3 separate regions of the Homo sapiens genome follow, and regions 1 and 3 are each linked to region 2. The links are contacts of gene promoters, found by promoter capture Hi-C in blood cells and fetal thymus (Javierre and others, 2016). All regions are on one chromosome and are shown on one strand. Each heading gives the region's core, a stretch centred on a gene start or on the middle of the fragment in contact. The rest is flanking DNA. Distances are from core to core; before and after follow the strand shown. Region 1 overlaps AGPAT3 (1-acylglycerol-3-phosphate O-acyltransferase 3). Region 2 holds the start of AGPAT3 (1-acylglycerol-3-phosphate O-acyltransferase 3). Region 3 overlaps AGPAT3 (1-acylglycerol-3-phosphate O-acyltransferase 3).

Region 1 (3,156 bases), core at 290-2,789, 120 kb before region 2:
CATCCTGGCCCCGATAGGCAGGAATACGGAGCCGGATGTCTGCATCCCCCAGGTCGGCCCCACGGCAGGGGTATGGGGCAGAGCCAGGGCGGAGTCAGGGGTGTGGCCGGCCCCATCCCCCGAGGCCCGAGGGGGCTTGCCTTTGGTTTGGGGACTAGCTCAGTAGAGAAAGGGGCAGGCACACGGCCGGGGACGTGCTGTTTCCAGAAAGAAGGCAGGCAGGCTTTTCGGGCTGGCCGTTTGAACCCTGAGCCTAGGTGCAGTGCAAGGGCTAGAAGCACATCGCGCCGTGGAGCACTAGTATTGCACGCCAGGGGCTGCATGCAGTGAGCCACAGGCCAGAGGCCTGCAGCGGGAGTCTACGCATGGGGCTGAACAAGTCAGGTGAAAATCTGCAGGGCTGGAGAGATTATACTTGGCTTGTTGTAGAAGTGTCTCAGGTAGAGACAAAGCATGCAGAAACTTACTCATTCTTCACCCCAAATCTGACCCCAACCGGTAGTCACAACAGGCATGGACAGCCTGGCAACAGCTACTCAATTGCACGTGAGTGAAACACACAGCTGGGTCCAACCACGGCTTTTCCTTCAAATCAACATCAATGCTCAGCAATACCGCAACGAACAGCGTGAGGAAAGATTCTCATGCCACGGTGCGCGAAAGGGAGTCGGGACAGGCAAGGCAGAGAGACTCAAAATTCATCGACAGGACGTGCTTTTTTTTTTTTTTTACACAAGAAAGTGCTGCTTACATTGTTGTTTTGTGTTATTTAGTGATTTGTTCAGCGCTCATCTCTTCCACCAGACTGCGCTTCCTGAGGACAGGGACCTTAAAGCACCTCACATAGGGTGCGCGTCTGGTACACTGTCGCCGAGTACCAGACAACCAGTGTCTCACACGGGGGAAGACGATGAAGACAGCAATGGCATCCTTGGGAAGATGGGCAGGAGACCCCATGACACCTGGCACCTGGGCCTAAGCTGGGAGGCCAGCGGCGTCCCCAGGAGACCACGGCCCAGGCTGGGAGCTTGACCGGCCAGACGCCCGTGGGTGGGCCTGGGCCCTCCCGCCTGGGAGCCTCCAGTGTGGCGCCTGGCTCTGGGTGGGTAACAGGAGCTACAGGCCAGCAATGCCCTTCCTGTCCTCGGCCTGGCTCAAGGACTGGGTGCAGAGGGCATCAGCGATGCCAGGCCTAGAATGTGCCTCACCCCGACAGTGGCCAGCACGGACTGTGGGCTACAGAGTTGCTTCAGCCTGAGCACTCAGCCTGAATTTGGACATAACATCAACTGAATTAAGCTCAGAAGTAGGGTGTAAAGGAAAAAGAAAAAAAAAAGACTGTTCTGGGATTTATGAATTTAATTTAAAAAATGTAAAGGAGCTCTCCTCCCCTTTTCCTTCTGGATGAAAAGCAAAATCCACCCTCCCCCCCCCAAAAAAAAAAAATTCAAACATTCATGGTGTAGTTTTTATTGCTCTTAAAGACTTGGTGTTGAGAAGCACAAGCTAAGCTGTGAGATGGGAAGGAAACCAGATGAGGTGTGACCCCTGCGCCTGGGCCTCCGTCTCCACTCTAACCTAGGGGCTGCCCAGCTCCGCCATGGCTCAGTGCAGAATTTATACATTATATATTAATTTCAAAGGGAGGGAACTTCTATGGGAAACAATAATAATTAAATCATAAAAGATCTAAATTTGCATTTTCCAGGTCACATATGTGCATGGTCGTACCCTTCAGCTTTTTTCCTTAAAGATTTTGCAGGTGTTAGTGAGTCAGTGAATGGCATGGATCTAAACACACATGGAGACGGATGAGCAGCGTGCGGCATGAGGAAGGTGCAGGAGAATCTCTGGGGTGCTCAGCCAGGGGAGCGCATGCCCTGCCCACGGCACAGCTGCCCGAGTGGGCGGGTGGAGGGATGAGATTTCAGATGGAGGGAAGCACATTTCCAAAACAACAGTGTCTGCAAGCGTGTCTCGCATGGTGTCGTTGGTCTCATCTGGTTTCGTTGGTCTGCCCCTTCACCCCTGCGAGGAGCCGTGCTCTGAGCAGGTGTGCACAGGTGGCGTCCCGCACACGCCCTGAGAGCACGGCCCCCACAGACCCGGGGCCCGGCAGCGCCTCCATCATGCAGAACGCTGCCGTCCCCTCCAATCTCCCCAGGACACTTAGGCCCGATGCCTAATTATGTTCTCGGTTTACTTTTCTTCATGCCTCTTTTCTCCATTTGTTTTCCCCTAGAAAACTCAACCTACCTCTATTCAGAACGCTGGTTTCAAGATATCAGAGATAACACCCATTTTGGTTTTTTTACCTTGCTAAAAAGATGAGGGCGCTGTGACTTAGAACAAGCAAGTCGAAAGCCAAATGCAGGTGGGCTGATGGTACCGCAACCAAGTTGAGCGTTCTACCACTGCCATTGCCCCAGGGGCCCCACCTGGCCATGCCGGGGGAGTGGACATGCTGTAGGGAGAAGCATCCCTCGCTCGGCGTGGGCCAGGGGCTCGCTGCAAGGCCAAGGGAGCCAGCATGACCGGCCGAGCGCTGCCCTCTGCTCTGCCTGGACTCTCAGAGACGTCCAGGAGGTAGGGAGCTGGGCGCTCAGGGGTGGCCGGGCCACAGTGACACCGGCCAGGATGGGGGCGGGCCTTCCCCAAGGACACAGTGCGAGGCTGGGGGGTGGGGGGTGCCCCACCTCTAGTTTCCAGCAGGAAGTTGAAAACCACCAAGAGATCAACCAGTAAAAATAAAATCTCTAGAAGTCAATGAGCTCAGTGTTAACAGTCTCCAACCACCTTTAAAAAACAGAGGGTTGACGGTGCCGTCGCTTCTTCTGAAGCATCCTAGAGTCCCACAGGCTGCCCTGTTCTCCCTCCTTGGCTCCTGATCTGTGGGATGGGGGGGCGCGCGGTAGCCCCGAGGGTCCTCCCTCCCCAGCACCCAGTGTGGAGGGACCAGGATCTGACAGCCATGAGAGCGACAAAGGAGCTTTAGGTGCATGGAGAACTCTGCATTTCACTGAGTTCTCAGGGGCCCATCCACTTTAAAAACAGATGTACGTATTTACACACAAGGTCAGATAGGAGCTAGGACAGACAGGGCTCTAGAAAGTGAGGTGGGGCGTTCGCCCTCAGCCAGCCCCAGGACAGGGCAGA
Region 2 (3,151 bases), core at 542-3,041:
GCTCCCCAGCGTGGAGTCTGCACTGGGGCCCCAGCCTGGGGCGGGGCAGCACCCTCCCTCCAGGAAGGCCTGTTCTAGAATCCACACTCCTGGGGACTTTCCCACCCGGCCACACTGCCTTTAACCCAGCAGTCTTCAGGCTGCTGCAGCGCGTCCCCCTGGCAGATACGCCAGGACAGGGCCACGCACAGGTAGGGTGACCACAGAGGGCGGCCACTCCATGAAGTCACCTTCAGAATATTTAAGGCCCCTACACCTTCTAAGGCCAAGGGGCCCTGTTCTGTCTGAATGTCAATGGCATGCAGCTGCTTTTTAGACAATGTCCTCAAGAAGATACTTAAGACTAACCAGAAATGGATACAAGAAGCGAGTTGTAACAGGCACAGGCTAACGCCGAACTCTGTGGGGGAGGAGGATTGGTTGGAAAGAGGGAGGGGGGGCGGCAAAGAAGTGGCCAAATCAAGAGAGTGCTCAGCATCCTCGGGAGACCCCTCTGAAGCTTTCAAACTGAGAAGACGAAGTTCAGCAATTCCTAAGCGAGTCGAGTCGGAGCAGCCGCGCCTGCAATTTAAAAGCTGCAGGATCCTGGGTCCCTCTAGCAGCCTGGGCCCGCCGCCCGCCCCACCTCCCAGCCCCCAGCAGGCTCTCGGCGTTGGCTTTCATTTTTAATAAGAGCCGCATGCTCATCACCCTCTGTCTGGAGGCCAACAGCCCACATCTTTCTTCTACTAAGATCATGTTTCCCAGGAAAAAGAACCCAACTGCTCAAGTATTCTCCTAGACAAAGCTTTTAAAATTGTGCTTTTTTTTTTTTAAAGGTCTGGGAAGCCATTTATAAAAGCATTTTCCCCATGTCACTAAACTTCTCTCAAAGTTAAAAAAAAAAAAAAAAACACTGCACCATTTTTAACTGCCTTCAAATACTAATAACCCTCCTTTCCTAAGTACTTGGGACCAATGTTCCAAGGGTCCTGGGGTGGCCAGGAGTGGGTTTTCGCCCCCACGGCTCTTGCCCCCGGACTGACCCCATCCCCTGACCCGCCCGGTGCAAACGCGCCGCCGGTCTCCGGGCCGAACCCACAGCCAACCCCGGGCCCCGCAGCCCTCCCCGCGCGGAGCGGCAAAAGTGAAACTGCTCCCTTGGCCTGGGCGCGCGAGGAGGAGGCCCCTGGGGGGGGTCCCGGGTCCGCCGCGCCCCGAAACCAGGCGGCGGGCGCGTCCTGTCCACGGGGGAGCCGAGCGGGGCCCGGAGCAGAGTCCAGGACGGAGGGATGGGACGTCCCCGCGGGAACCCACTCGCCCTCCCTCGGCCCGGCCCGGGCCCCTCCCGGGCGCCCCGAACCCCCGGGCCTCCCCGCTGGGCCCAGCGCCACCGAGGCTGCTGCGGGAAGCGGCCGGGGCCTCGCGCTGGACCAGGCCGCCGGGGAGGCCGGGGTTGCGGGGGGCGCACAGGACCCGGGCCCAGACCTCCTCCCGGCCCCGCGCCTTCCCAGGCCCCGCGCCCCGCGGAGCGCGGCCGGCCCATTGCGGCGCGGGGCCCCGGGCGGCCCGAGGTCGGACGGCTGGGGCAGGGGCGACCTCCGGCGGCGGGAGGGCGACCTCGGGCGGCGGCGGGGCGTGGGGGAAGAGGGGGGCGGCCCGACCTCGGGTGGGGGCCTCGGTGCTCACCTGCAGCCGCCGCCACCTGCTCGTCGCGCGGGCGTCCCCGGCGTCGCCTCCGCGGCCCCGCTCTGGCCGCCGCGCTCCTCGGCCCTGGGCCCGGCCCGGCCCTGCGTCGGGGCCTCAGCGAGTGCGGCGCCCGCCGCCCCCGGCCCCCATCCCGCCGCCCTCCGCCCTCCGCCCTCGGCCGCGCCGCCGCCGCCACTTCCTGTGCGCGGCGATCCCACAGTTCCGCCGGCGCGCGCGGGGCGGCCGAGGGACACGCTGGGGGGACACGGGGGAAGGACGCGGGGGGGGACGCGGGGGGACGGCGCGGGGGGGGACGCGGAGGGGACACGGGGGCGACACGGCGGGACACGCGCGCGGAGAGAGGTGTGGGCCGAGGGCGCCGGCGGGGCCGGGCGCGGAGCCTGCGTGGGATCCGCTAACGGACGGGGCTGGGGCCCGGGCTGGGGGAGGGGGCGGGCCGGGACCGCGGGGGGCGCGGGGATCAGGGGGGTCGGGGCTGAACGGGGGGAGGCGGCGAAGGACCAGGCTGGGGTCCCGCGAGGGCTCCCCCGGACCGGGTCGGGGGCAGAGGGGGCCGGGGCGCGGGGTGGGGCCGGGAGGGGCCTCCGAGCTCTGCCTGGGCCCCGCCATCTCCCCTGCCGGGGTCTCCTGCGGGCGCCGGGGAAGTTTCGCGCGCGAGCTCCTGCCCTGGTCGGCCGGGGCTTAGGGTCGCCGTCAGGGGTCGCCGCGCGGCGGGCTCGGTGGGGACGGCCCTGCGCGCAGCGGCTCCGCGGAAGGATCGCGTTTCGGCCCACGTGCCGCGCCCTTGGACTTATTCATAGTTGGCACCCGGCTGGCAACACTGTATCGACACTTGACCGTGGCGGGGGTGGGGGTCGCCCCGGGGCTGCCCTGCGAACCCCCGCGGGCGCTGACGCCGTCCCCTCCAGACCGCGGAGCCCTCTCAGCCCCAGGACAGCGGCTGCCGTCCCCCCTCCCTTGCACCTGGCCAGCGGCCGATCCCAGAACCTGCGGAGGCCGCGCAGGTGCCGCTGTCAGGGCAGGGCCCGCTGCGGGCTCCGCCTCCTGCGCCCGGTACCTTGTGTGACCTGGCGCCTGCTCAGGTCCTCAGGCCCCGGCTGGACTTGCTGAGCTTGGGTGGGCTTCATTTGAAAACCATTTAAAATACCAAGTACTGGTACTGTCTACTGTGCCCCTTTTTTTCCTTTTTTTTTTTTTTATTTTTATTATTATTGAGACAGGGTCTTGCTCTGTCGCCCACCCTGGAGTGCAGTGGTACAATCATAGCTCGCTGAAGCCTTGAACTCCAGGGCTCAAGTGATCCTCCCACCTCAGCCTCCCAAGTAGCTGGGACCACAGGCACACACCACCATGTCTGGCTAATTTAAAAAAAATTTTTTTTGTAGAAATGGGGCCTCACGGTGTTGCCCAGGCTGATCTCGAACTCCTGAGCTCAAGTATTCTCCCACCTCCTCCTCTCAAA
Region 3 (3,116 bases), core at 562-3,061, 74 kb before region 2:
GAAATCCTAGGCCAGCGTGATCTGTGACACCTGCTGATTCTCGGCTTCTGCAGTAAGAGCCGGCACGGACTCTGGTCAAGGGCAGCTGGGAAATCGCCTGCGATCACCATAAACCAGCCCATCAGGCAATGGGTGTGACAGAGCAGCGCCACTTTGATGGTAACTACGCATTTTCTGCTCAGGGTGCAGATCACCATGTAAATCAGCCATCCTACAGCACCTGCCTTGGGGGGCAGTGGGAGTCTGTGCCCATACATCAGGCACTTGTCCGTCCCAGGACATGCCAGGCATCTACAAACACCGCCCAGATGGTATGAAACCGCTCAGCTCCTTCAGGAATGTTCTGAACAAAAACCCCTTTGCAGAAGGATGGGAGAGCTGCCCAAGGACCCCAGGAGGGATCAGAATGAGTTCCTGCCATCCCCTGCTTCCCTACCTCCCAGGAGTTCCCCTGCAAAGGGCTAGGCAGGGTTTGTTGACATGCAGAGAACGGTCCAGGGCTGGAAGAGGAGGGGAGCACACAGTAAAGGCCCCCAGGACTGCCCAGGCCCCCGGGCCCCGGCCTCACTCACCAGTAGAAGTAATAGGCCAAAGCCACCGCCAGCAGGGCCACACAGATCCCTGAGAAGAGGCAGGCCGGGTAGCTGCTCAGCATCTTCAGCCCTCGGTCCTGTGCTGCCTGAAGCCGGCGAGAAGGACCTGCGGGGAGCAGGTGTCAGCCTGGCCAAAGGGTGAGGAGCCGAGCTCAAGCGGAGGGATTAGGACCTGGCCTGAGCTGCCCAGGCTTGGCAGGGGCCGTTGCCACCCAGAGCATCTGCTCAGCAGGAAGTGGGTGCTGGGCACCCCCAGGGTGCCACCTGCGTGGCCAGCACTGTCCTTCTAGTCACAGAGACCAACTCAAGGGACCCCAGGAGCGCGCTGAAGCAGGACATACACACAGGTTCGTCCTCCTGCGCACAGCTGCGGGCTCTGCCGTCGGGGCACCGGCTAATCCAATAAGCAGCTTTTGGCCAGGAGCTGCTCACTGTAAACAGGCAGAGTCACAGGGCCAGCCAGGATGCAGGTCAACGAGCCCCACCCCAGCACAGACCCCTAGGACCAGGGACCTAAGAGTGCCCACATCTTCCTCCTCACAGCACCAGTGTGTCAAGGGGCCAGGTTGTGGGTGAGTTGGTGAGGTCTACCCTGTGCTCAGCCGTGGGCTAGCAAGATCCCTGAAAGGCCTCCAAGTGATAGGCAAACGTCCTGCATGTGGGGCATGGCTGTGGGCTCAACAGAGAACAGCCACCCAGCCTGCCGGACAGGCCAGGCGCCCGCGACACTCTCTCCAAACTGCAGCAAGGTTTGCTAAACGGTGGTGCTCCGGGTCCCATGTTCAGAGCTCCCACGCTGGAAGAGCTGTGGGGTGGGCCGCCTCTTATCCTCCAGAAGTCAGGCACGTCCCTCCATGTCACTCCAGCCTGAAACCTCTCAATCTGAAATGGAGTTCAAAGGCTAAACTAGGGAGATGAGATCAAAGGACCCAGGGACCAGAGCATCGCCCTGGGAAACCTCCTGGGGCGCGGGAGGCCCCCGACAACAACAGCGACGGGGGTGGGGTGTTATCAAGGGAGCGCCCGCTAGAGGCCCTCGACAGCACACGGGGACGGGGATGGGGTGTTCCTAAGGGAGCGCCCCCTGGAGGCCCGGCCAGTGCATTCTCGCTCAGGGTCACGGGGCCACAGTGGGATAAAGTGAAAGTCACTGCTCGTGCATCTCCCACGGCATCAGACACAACGAACCTGTCCCCAGCAGGGTTTGCCCAGGATGCTCCCCTAGCCTGGTCGCAGCCCCGTCCCAGCCCTGGTGCGGCCCCTGCGTGCTCTGTGGGAAACTGTGGACTGAGAGGTGGGAACCGCTCAGCTCAGTCCTGACATGCTCAGCCTTTACTTCTGTGAACCTGTGAACCTGGTGGAGGAGAGAGCGTGATGGGGCAGCCGCAGCCTTCCCAGGCCTGGGGGAGCCCCTCCTTCCCCCCACAAGGCTTCAGGTGACTGCATCCCCGGCCAACACATTGACCCCATGTGACTCCACGTGACACCCAGAATCGCCCGCTAAGCCACTCCTGGATTCCTGACCCTCCGCAGCTGTGTGAGATAATAGATGTCTGCTGTTTTCGCTGCTAAGTTTGTGGGTAACTCGTTACACAGCAATGTAACAAACACGGTAAGGCAACCAGGCAGATCAATATGAGGCGCACCATTTACTGGAAGTATTGGATGACTATTTATAGGGCTGGAGTTAGTGTCTGAACAAAATAGAAGATTTGCAGGCCGGGCACGGTGGCTCACACCTGTAATCCCAGCACTGTGGGAGGCCGAGGCTGGTGGATCACCTGAGGTCAGGAGTTTGAGACCAGCCTGGCCAACATGGTGAAACCCTGTCTCTATTAAAAATACAAAAAATTAGCATGCCTGTAATCCCAGCTTCTCAGGAGGCTGAGGCAGGAGAATCGCTTGAACTCGGGAGGCAGAGGTTACAGTGAGCACTCCAGCCTGGGCAACAAGAGCAAGACTCTGTCTCAAAAAAAAAAAAAAAAAAAAAAAAAGATTTGCAGATTCAAGAATTCTGACTTCTAATCCTCAGTACGTTCCTCAGTACGTTCCTTCTATCCCAATGAGCGATGTTAACTAACTTAGCTCTCTAGCGTAACATGCACATCATGGAACCAAGACATTCATTTAATCCTGTTAGCAGCCCAAGAAACCCAACAGTGAGTGTGAGTGTGTGTGTGTGTGTGTGTGTGTCTGTGTGTGTGTGAGAGAGAGAGAGAGAGAGAAAGTGGGGGAGAGAGGAGAAATGCAGCCCTCCCACCAGACAACAGCAAGCGTGTGAGCTGCTTCCTCCTCCCTCTGCAGCGAGGACCCAGACAACTTCCTTGGTCCAGCACTGTCTGCACAGTCACCCCAAAATATGCAAATATGACTGGCTGCCCACACAACCTCTGCCTGGCACTTCTTCTAACAAGAACCTGCCTGAGGTATAGAAGGCAATGGCTATGCAGAAGTCATCTGGTTTCATGGGATGCGTCCTAATGACTGCCTTAGAGATAGTTAATGAGAGAGAGAAAGGAGTCT

Evidence for each region. The method cuts DNA at HindIII sites, captures the fragments that hold promoters and counts their contacts. A CHiCAGO score of 5 or more calls a contact.
Region 1: a fragment that was not itself captured here is called in contact with the fragment with the promoter of AGPAT3 in region 2 in 3 of 17 cell types (endothelial precursors, M1 macrophages and M0 macrophages); the score reaches 7.7 in endothelial precursors.
Region 3: a fragment that was not itself captured here is called in contact with the fragment with the promoter of AGPAT3 in region 2 in 2 of 17 cell types (megakaryocytes and erythroblasts); the score reaches 6.4 in megakaryocytes.

The regions. Positions count from the first base shown.
Region 1 is chr21:43,982,972-43,986,127 of GRCh38, reverse strand. It overlaps AGPAT3 (1-acylglycerol-3-phosphate O-acyltransferase 3), which reads right to left. Exons shown (of 10, transcript NM_020132.5): 10 at 1-3,156. Among named protein-coding and RNA genes, the nearest start is that of TRAPPC10, 28 kb to the left of the region's middle. RefSeq lists enhancers at 1-184, 2,637-3,156 and a silencer at 945-1,004. The HindIII fragment of the contact is 4,574 bases long and covers 1-3,156 here.
Region 2 is chr21:43,863,863-43,867,013 of GRCh38, reverse strand. It overlaps AGPAT3 (1-acylglycerol-3-phosphate O-acyltransferase 3), which reads right to left and starts at 1,791. Exons shown (of 10, transcript NM_020132.5): 1 at 1,669-1,791. RefSeq lists silencers at 1,033-1,352, 1,473-1,822, 2,373-2,732. The HindIII fragment of the contact is 5,864 bases long and covers 790-3,151 here.
Region 3 is chr21:43,937,788-43,940,903 of GRCh38, reverse strand. All of the region lies in intron 2 of AGPAT3 (1-acylglycerol-3-phosphate O-acyltransferase 3), which reads right to left. Among named protein-coding and RNA genes, the nearest start is that of TRAPPC10, 73 kb to the left of the region's middle. RefSeq lists a silencer at 1-142 and enhancers at 682-1,580, 1,824-2,223, 1,581-2,481, 2,760-2,809. The HindIII fragment of the contact is 4,356 bases long and covers 1-3,116 here.